2 separate regions of the Homo sapiens genome follow, and region 2 is linked to region 1. The links are contacts of gene promoters, found by promoter capture Hi-C in blood cells and fetal thymus (Javierre and others, 2016). All regions are on one chromosome and are shown on one strand. The core of a region is centred on a gene start or on the middle of the fragment in contact, and the rest is flanking DNA. Distances in the headings are between cores, read along the strand shown. Region 1 holds the start of CIMIP3 (ciliary microtubule inner protein 3). Region 2 has its middle 11 kb from the start of MIR4641.

The links. The method cuts DNA at HindIII sites, captures the fragments that hold promoters and counts their contacts. A CHiCAGO score of 5 or more calls a contact.
Region 2: a contact is called between a fragment that was not itself captured here and the fragment with the promoter of CIMIP3 in region 1, in 1 of 17 cell types (activated CD4 T cells). The highest score is 6.2, in activated CD4 T cells.

The regions. Positions count from the first base shown.
Region 1 is chr6:42,154,018-42,158,672 of GRCh38, reverse strand. It overlaps CIMIP3 (ciliary microtubule inner protein 3), which reads right to left and starts at 3,267. Exons shown (of 2, transcript NM_001384994.1): 1 at 3,188-3,267. The coding sequence starts at 3,196. It overlaps GUCA1ANB-GUCA1A (GUCA1ANB-GUCA1A readthrough), which reads right to left and starts at 3,267. Exons shown (of 5, transcript NM_001319062.2): 1 at 3,080-3,267. The HindIII fragment of the contact is 11,083 bases long and covers 1-4,655 here.
Region 2 is chr6:41,607,407-41,612,012 of GRCh38, reverse strand. No RefSeq gene overlaps it. Among named protein-coding and RNA genes, the nearest start is that of MIR4641, 11 kb to the right of the region's middle. The HindIII fragment of the contact is 2,425 bases long and covers 1,993-4,417 here.

The DNA.
Region 1 (4,655 bases), core at 2,018-4,517:
TCGGAGGCATCAAAGCATTTTTCTGAGTTCACAGTTTGTAGAATAGCATGTAAGTAACTTGCAGAAGTCCCACAACTGGTTAGTGTGGGAACCAGGATTCAAACTCTCTCCTCCCTTTCTGCCCTAGCCCAGGCCCTGGCTTGGGCCCACCTGCCCTGGGTCCACACCTCGGCTGTGTTTAGAATGCTGCTGCTGCAACATACAGGACTCTGGGGGCAGCAGGGGTAGGGGACAGCCAGGGTCCCCGGAACATCCAGGGATGAAGCCCTCACAAAAACTGGGACACAGACAGTCTAGGGGAAGAGGTGGAAGAGGAGGAAGAGGGAGTCAGGCAGCACTAGCCCTCCCCTGCCCTTTCTAGGGGCCAAGCCAGCCTCCAAGTGACTAACCTCAGAGGGCTGAGGACACCCCATTACCTCCCCCAGGGCCTAGCAGAGCCAGCTCTGGCTGAGGGTGGGGCCTGACTGCATACTTTCCAGGTTAACATCTGGTTTCTTTTAACTGGCTATTCTTTGCTCACATGCTCCTCGTCAAGTGTGCTGGGTGTGCGCACACTGTGTATGTGACTTTAGATCATTGGTTCTCAGCCAGGGGTGATTCTTCCTCCAGAGGACATTTGGCATGCATGTTTGGAGACATTTTGGGTTGTCACACAGTGTGGGGTGGGTGCTACTGCCTTCCAGCGGGTAGGAGACAGGGATGCTGCTATGTATCCTACAATGGACAGCCCCCGCAACAAAGAATCATCAGCGTCCAATGTCAAAAGCGCCAAGGTTGAGAAACCCTGGTTTAGAGGGTTGAGGAAGAAGCCCCATCTCCCCTACTGCTTCCCTCATTTCCATTCTACAGGGAGTGATGAAGTTACAGGACAAGTAGAGATTCTCACCAGCCCCTCCCCTCCCTTGGGAATCCCATGATCCTATTTTCACTTGGGTTCTAAGCTAAAGCCAAAAGAAGGAATCTAGGTAGAATTATCCCTCACTGGGCCAGCGTGGTGGCTCATGCCTATAATCCTAGCACTTTGGGAGGCCAAGGCAGGAGGATTGCTTGAGGCCAAGAGTTCAAGATCAACCTGGCCAACATAGTGAGACCCCATCTCTATTAAAAAAAAAAAAAGAAAAAAGAGCCGGCACCATGGCTCACGCCTGTAATCCCAGCACATTGGGAGGCTGAGGTGGGCAGATCACTTGAGCCCAGGAGTTTGAGACCAGCCTTGGCAACGTGGCAAAACCCCGTCTCTACTAAAAATACAAAACATTAGCTGGGTGTGATGGTGCACGCCTGTAATCCCAGCTACTTGGGAGGCTGAGGCAGGAGAATCACTTGAATCAGGGAGGAGGAGGTTACAGGGAGGAGGAGGTTACGGGGAGCTGAGATCAGCCAATGCACTCCAGCCTAAGTGACAGAGTGAGACCTTGTCTCAGAAAAAAGAAATATCCCTTCATAACCCCCATCCCCACAGGCGGACCCCACAAAGGCCTTTCAGATGCACAGTACACATGTATTAATATGTACATATATACTAATATGCGTTTGTCCCTTATGCCGGGGTTTAGAGTGAGGAAGTGCATGACTCAAGAGTGGGGCTTTCTGAGTAGGGCAAGAAGATCTCATCTGTGATATTACTACAGGTTTTCTAGGAAGGCACCCTGTCCTCTCAAATCCTCCAGGGCCATAGGCACATGGCCTTGCCCAGTGAGAAATTCCACCTGTAGCCTCCTCACTCTGGGGGAAGGCCTTGTGCCTTATTGAAATGCAAATAGCACTTGGGTGTGAAGGCTGGTGAGGGCCCCCAGGGGCACGTGGTGCTGTCCAATGTGCCTTGGCTTTGGTGTTTGAAGGTCTGAGCTCTGGGCCTGACCCTGTTCTTACAGGTCAGGCGACCTTGGGCAAGTGGCTGAGCCTCTTTGAGCTTCAGGGGCCTCATCTGCAAAATGGGGATAATAAGGCTATCTAATTCACCAGCTTGTGGTGGGGTGCCATGAGTGCTGGGAACGGTAAAGGCACAGTGCAAATAGTCATTACTCTCAGCCTCTCGGGCAGTTACACCGTGGTTTCACACACATACCTGTCTGAACCTATAGGAGAGCACGTTTCCCTTTGGGGGAGCACAGGGGCTTTGAAGGGAGTGGTTAGGGAAGCCGGGGGTAGGCCTCAGCTTCCTCATGTGACTGGGTAGCATGAGAGCCTGGAGCCAGCTACCCCAGTTCAAATTCCAGTTCCCTGCAGGGCCCGGTGGCTCACACCTGTAATTCAGCGGGAGGTTGAAGTGGGAGGATTGCTTGAGCTCAAAAGTTCAAGACCAGCCTGGGCAACATTGAGAGACCTCATCTCTATTTTATAAAAAAGTAAAAAAAAAAAAAAAAGAAAAAAAAATGGCTGAGCACAGTGGCTCACGCCTGTAATCCCAGCACTTTGGGAGGCCGAGGCAGGAGAATCACTTGAGGTCAGGAGTTCGGGACCAGCCTGGTCAACATGGTGAAACCCCGTCTCTACTAAAAATACAAAAAAATTAGCCGGGCGTGGTGGCAGGTGCCTGTAATCCCAGCCACTTGGGAGGCTGAGGTGGGGGAATCATTTGAACACAGGAGGCGGAGGTTGCACTTAGCTGAGATTGTGCCACTGCACTCCAGCCTGGGCAACAAAGCGAGTCTCAAAAAAAAAATAAATAGAATTCCAGCCCTCTCACTCACTAGCTGCCTGATCCTTAGGCAAATTATAATCTCTGTACCTCAATTTTCCGAAGTATAATGTGGGAATAACAAGAGCTCTACCTCATAGGGTTCATGTGAGGACTTAATGAGCTAGTCCATGTAAGGTGCCTAGACCTCTTAAGCACTCAAACTTTAGCTACAATTATTATTTATCTCAAGTTTGCCTTGGAGATGGTGTAACACGAACCAAACAGTCCAGGACACACTTTACAGCAGTGAAGGGGCAGAGGAAGCAAGATGGAGGGTGTCCTGTTCCCTCTCTCCATCTCCCCAGAGAGATCGCAGAGGTCCGACAGCTGGGGAGTACAAGGCAGGCAGCAGCACCAGCACCAGCACCCAACTAAGCCTTTTGTAAGAGGACCTACCTCCCAGCCGCACATGTGAGGCTGGCTGGGGCTTTCATGCTCTTTCCTGCCCATCAGGCTTCTTGTGACCCCGAGCTGACCTTCCCCAGCCCTGTGATTTCATCACACCTTGCACATCCTGGACCAGGGCCTTTCTTGATGGTGAGGTGGAACTTCTGGTGGTCAGGGAGGACTCTTGGCAGGATACTGAGAGTGCCAAGGTGGGGAGAACTTGTATGGGGCAGGGGGCATTGTGACACCTCTTTACAACACAATTCCTTCTGTCTTCCCAAGGAGACATGAGGCCAGGGCTGGGGACTGACGTTTCAGGACCTGGAAGGGTCTTTTAACCTTGACACTGGCCCACTATGCTATTCCCTCTTCCCACAAACCCATAGAACCCTAAAACTGTGGGCAGGAGGTGAATGGAGAGAGATCATCCTAATTATCAAGGTGCCTCCAGAAGTCCTAATATCCCCCCATGTCCCAATATCACTGTCAGGAAGGAAATGTACCTTGGCAACTCTTCATTCTATCTATCTATCTAATCTATCTATTTATTTATCTATCTATTTATCTATCTATCTATCATCTATCATCTACCACCTGTCAATCATCTATTTATCATCTATCTATCATCTATCTGCCTTCCAAATTACAGAGATGAGTGGATGAATGGATGGGTGGACATGAGTGGGAGGGTGGATGGACAGGTGGATGGACTGGGTTGGCAGATAGATGGTGGATGGGCCAACCCTTGTGATTTGAGCCCTGCTCATCTCCTTAGCCTCATCTCTTGCTATCTTTCCCTTGCTCTCTATGGAGTAGCTAGTTTCTTAGACATGCCCCACTCTCTCCCCTCTGAGCCTCTACATATGCCATTCCTTCTCATGGATTGCTTTGAACAGAGGGTTGGGAGATAAAGGGATGGATGAACAGGTGGATAGACAGATGGCTGAATAGGAGTGACCATGTGTGAGTGGATGGATGGATGGTCAGTAAATGGACAGATGGTGATGGCTGTGGTATAGAGGATTGCAGGTCTGGGAGTTAGAATGCCTGAGCTTGAATTCTGGCTGTACTACTTTACTAGTGTGTAACTTTGGGAAAATTAATTGACATCTCTATGCTTCTGTTTTCTCATCTGTAAAATGGGTAAAGTCCCTACCTAATAGAGTTGGGCAAAGCACTTAGGACAGTGCCTGGTACAGAGTAAGCATTGAGTAAACATCAGCTATGACTATGTGTGGGTGGGTAATTGGATTGATGGGTGGGTGGTTGAATGGGCTGTCCTGTCCCCATCTTCAAAAATCAGCTCCCCTACCTCCCTAGGGTCCTGTCTCCCCAATACCACACTTGGTAGGCAGCTTCCAGGAGTAATGTCAGAAATCCCACATGTAGGAATGACATGGGCTTCTCCCTTGGTTGAGGGGAAGGAGAGAGTTCCAGCGGGAGGTAGATAGAGCTATTGGGTGCCTTCCTGCCACACCAGCTTGGGCTGGGCCCGGAATTATTTGTTTTCTTCCTGGCCCTGAGTCAACGCTGACAAGATGCACTTTGGGGCCGAAGGCAGACTGGAAATTGGGGTGTTGATGAC
Region 2 (4,606 bases), core at 1,956-4,455, 550 kb after region 1:
CTACCCCACACATGCACAGCCTCTTCCATGATTAACGTCCCCGCTGGAGTGGTACGTTTGTTACAATCTCTGGACCTACACTGACCATCGTTGTCACCCAAAGTCCACAGCAGTTCATTCTTGGTGTACATTCTGTGGGTGTGGACAAATGTATAATGGCATGTACCCACCATTATAGTATCACCCAGGGTATTTTCCCTGTCCTATAATCCTCTGTGCTCTGCCCATTCATCCTTCCCTCCCCTCCAGTCCCTGGCAACCACTTGTCATTTACTTGGTTAAAGATTTGCCATTACTCCCACTTCTTTTCCTTTTTTTCCTTTTTGAGACAGAGTCTTGCTCTGTCACCCAGGCTGGAGTGCAGTGGCACGATTTTGGCTCACTGCAACCTCCGCCTCTCAGGTTCAAGCGATTCTCTTGCTTCAGCCTCCCAAGTAGCTGGGACTACAGGCGTGCACCACCACACCCAACTAATGTTTGTAGTTTTAGTAGAGATGGGGTCTCACCATGTTGGACAGGCTGGTCTTGAACTCCTGACCTTAAGTGATCTGCCTGCCTTGGCCTCCCAAAGTGCTGGGATTACAGGTGTGAGCCACTGTGCCTGGCCATTACCTCCACTTCTAGAAGTACCCAGTGCCAGCCAACAGTCCCTGAGCCTTGGTGGGGAGGGCCACATGCAGGGTGGGCTGCCTCTCAGCTCTTCTCATGCTGCCTTAGGACTCAGCTGTCTCTGCCTATCCTCTCCAAGGGTTCCAGAATGTGTTGCTGTTGTCTCCAGTCTGGTTCTATTTGTCTCTCTGAGGCTATTCCTTAAAAGAAAAATCCCTCTACTGTAGCTCAGTAGGGCTCCAGGACGGCATGAAGGAAAGTGCATGAGCTCAATCTGCCATGTTTATTAGAGGCTGCTCCCATTGGGTTTTCTGATGTCACCTCAAATTCAACTTGACCCAGACCAATCCTCTCATCGTGTACTACAAATCGAGTTTCTGCTCCGTATATCCTGACTTCCGCCAGTGGCTTCTGCCACTCCGTTACCTAAGGCTGAAAGCCATAGTTTCCCTGTATATCTTTGTTTTTTTTGCCTCCCACCTGTGGAACCAGTCTCACCTCTTCTCTTCCTTTGTGGGTGGGGCATCCCTTCCATTTCCCTTCCTCTCTGTTCACAGCCACCACCCCCATCCAGCTTCTCACACCCAGGCCTGAATGAATGGCCTGTTGATTTTCAAGCTTGTCCCCCTCACATCTAATCTACAAATGCCTCTTATAAAAAAAAAATCATGATCATATCATTCCTCCACTCAAAAATATAGTTTTTATTTTTATTTATTTATTTATTTATTTATTTATTTATTTATTTATTTTGAGACAGAGTCTCGCTCTGTCGCCCAGGCTGGAGTGCAGTGGCGTGATCTCAGCTCACTGCAACCTCTGTCTCCTGGGTTCAAGCAATTCTCCTACCTCAGCCTCCCAAGTAACTGGGATTACAGGCACCCGCCACCACGCCCGGCTAGTTTTTGCATTTTTAGTAGAGACGGGGGCTTCACCACGTTGGCCAGGCTGGTTTTGAACTCTTGACCTCGGGCAATCCGCCCACCTTGGTCTCTCAAAACGTTGGGATTACAGGCGTGAGCCACTGTGCCCGGCCAAATACTAGACAAAATATTTCGTCTAGAGTAAAAAGTCCAAAGTTCTGAGTCAGGCCAGTGATTTTCCATAATCTGACTCCAATCTATGTCTCTGGGCCTAATTCTCCTACCATGACTGCTGGACACGGGCACTCTGAACAGATCAGCTCCTTTCAGACGCTGTGCCCTTCACGTGCTGTCCTCTCTGCTCAGGCACCTCTCAACATCCAGCTCAAGTGCTTCCCTGGTGTGAAGTTTCCCAGGTTACCCCAGGGAAGTTGCACACATCCTTTTCTGGGTTCCCATCCCCAAACTGAATGTTGTATTGTCATTCTTCTGCTTATATATCTGTCTATATCTATAAGCTTCATATATATATATGTCATTCTTCTGCTTATATATGTATCTGTTTGGAGTTCTTTGAGGAGACAGACTGTGTCTTATTCATCTTGTACTTTCAGAGCTCAGCTTGGTGCCTTGTATGCAGAAAGTTCTCAATAAATTTTGAATGTATGAATGATTAACCTCGGTTATACTTCATAATTTGTTGCTTTCTATTCTTTTCTATGCAGCTGCCTTCTCTGTCACCATATTAATAACAATTTTTATGGGAAAGACTTTTGTAAAATTAAACTCCTTGGGAGTGTCATAAGAAGACCCTTTTCTATATGGGGAGTGCTTACAGCAGAAGGGAGTCAAGCATATTCTTTTGTATGGGGCCTTATCTTGACTTATTTTACTTCTTTACATATCGGTGTTATTTTCTTTCTTTCTTTTTTTTTTTAATTTTTAAATTTTTTTAGACGGAGTCTTGCTCTGTCGGCCAGCTGATTCTCCTGCCTCAGCCTCCCCAGTAGCTGGGATTACAGGTGCCTGCCACCACATCTAATTTTTTTAAATATTTTTTTTTTAGTAGAGATAGGGTTTGGCCATGTTGGTCAGGCTGGTTTTGAACTCCTGACCTCAAGTGATCCGCCTGCCTCGGCCTCCCAATGTGCTAGGATTACATGTGTGAGCCACTGCGCCCGGACAACCTATCAGTGTTCTTTTTCCAGCTGCTCTGTTAGCCCCTCAGGGTAGGGCCTGTGCCTACTCATTGCTTTCCATATTACCTGTAACACCCAGCCCCAGGCTGGGTGTAGAATCGATGCTCAATAAAGGTTTGTGGATTGACTGGGTGCGCTCTGGGATAGGGAAAGATACACACGTCAGTTTGGGGTGATTCTCCAATGCGGAAGCAAAGTCAGGAAGCTGGGGGTGGGTCGTGGCAAAGGTGTGACAGCTGAGGACCAGAGCGGGTTGTGGGAGAGGGCACCCGGGGACAGCCAATGACAGCTGAGCAGTCTTTGCAAAGCAGGAAGCAAGAGAAGGATGAGGAAGGAATTCCACGGAAGAAGTAGGAGAGAAACTTGTGTGAATGGTGTAGTGGTTGGGTGGGGGTGGCGACTGCAATAGAGGAGGGGTGCAGGGAGGTGAGAAGGCTCCTGGGGTGAAGGCCTTAGCAGGTCTAACAGGCAGGCCAGCCCTGTGTTCCCTGCCACCTCCCTTGCCTCCTGTTCACACAGGTGCTCCACACTGCGGCCCATCTGCCAGAGCCGCCTTTGTCTTAACTATTGAGGAGCCCCTGAACCGCCTCATACCCTCCTTCAGTGTCACCAAGCCCAGGCCTCTGCTTGGGGATGGGATTCCCACCCGCTCTTGACTTCCCACTGCCAGCTGTGAGTCCCATGACTGTTTCTAGGCTGCCCTTCCCAGAAGGGGTCCCCTGTTCCTGAGTTCTCGGGGAGATAACAAGGAAGGAGACATCAGAACCAGGGGAACTGCTGAGTCTGCTGGAGAAGGGCTGGCTCATGTATGCACTCATAAAGAGGTATATAATCTGAGCCCATTCTGCCTTTTCCCTTGCTTTTTTTTTTTTTTTAATTGAGACAGAGTCTCGCTCTGTCTGCAACCTATGCTGCCTGAGTTCAAGTTATTCTCATGCCTCAGCCTCCCGAGTAGCTGGGACTAGAGGCGCACACCACCATGCCAGGCTTTTTTTTTTTTTTTTGTATTTTTAGTAGAGACAGGGTTTCGCCATGTTGGCCAGACTGGTCTCGAACTCCTGACCTCAAGTGATCCACCCGCCTCAGCCTCCCAAAGTGCTGGGATTACAGGCATGAGCCATCATACCCGGCCCCATGCTCCTTAAAAATACACTGAGGCACATATAACCATCACTGCTGAGAAAATTAATAATAAAACATTTTCTTGACATTCCTTGGCTATGTCCCACCTCCTCTCAACCTCTGGGGGTCTCCTCTCTCTCTCCCTTTGCTGCTTACTAAACTCACTGAAAGAGAGACGTACACCTGTGCCTCTACTTGCCCTCCACATACAGACTCCCTAACCCAGGAGTCCCCAACCCCCAGGCCGTGGACCTGCTCCGTGGCCTGCTAGGAACTGGGCCGCACAGCAGGAGGGGAGCGGCTGACAAGGGAGCATAACCACCCGAGCTCCGCCTCTGTCAGCTCAGCGGTGGCACTAGATTCTCACAGGAGTGTGAAGTCTATTGTGACCTGTGCATGCAAGGGATCTAGACTGTGTGCTCCTTATGAGAATCTAATGGCTGATGATCTGAAGTGGAACAGTTTCATCCCGAAACTATCCCCTCACCCCCACCCTGGTCCATGGAAAAATTGTCTTCCACGAAACCAGTCCCTGGTGCCAAAAAGGTTGGGGACCGCTGCCCTAACCCACCATTCTGCCCTCACTCTTCTTAGAAACTATTCTGTCCTAGGGCATCAGAAGCTTCCAGTTGCCAAGTCCATGGAAGCAGCTCCCAGGCCTCGAATTTTGGGAACCCTTTGGCCTCTGTCACAGTGAACCCTCAGGACTGCCCTCTCTTGTGGTTCTCCTTCCTTGCCATCCCCGGACTATCCCCACCTTCCTTTGTGGCCACATCTCCTGCCCCACCACCAGATGTGGGCCCAGATGTGCTT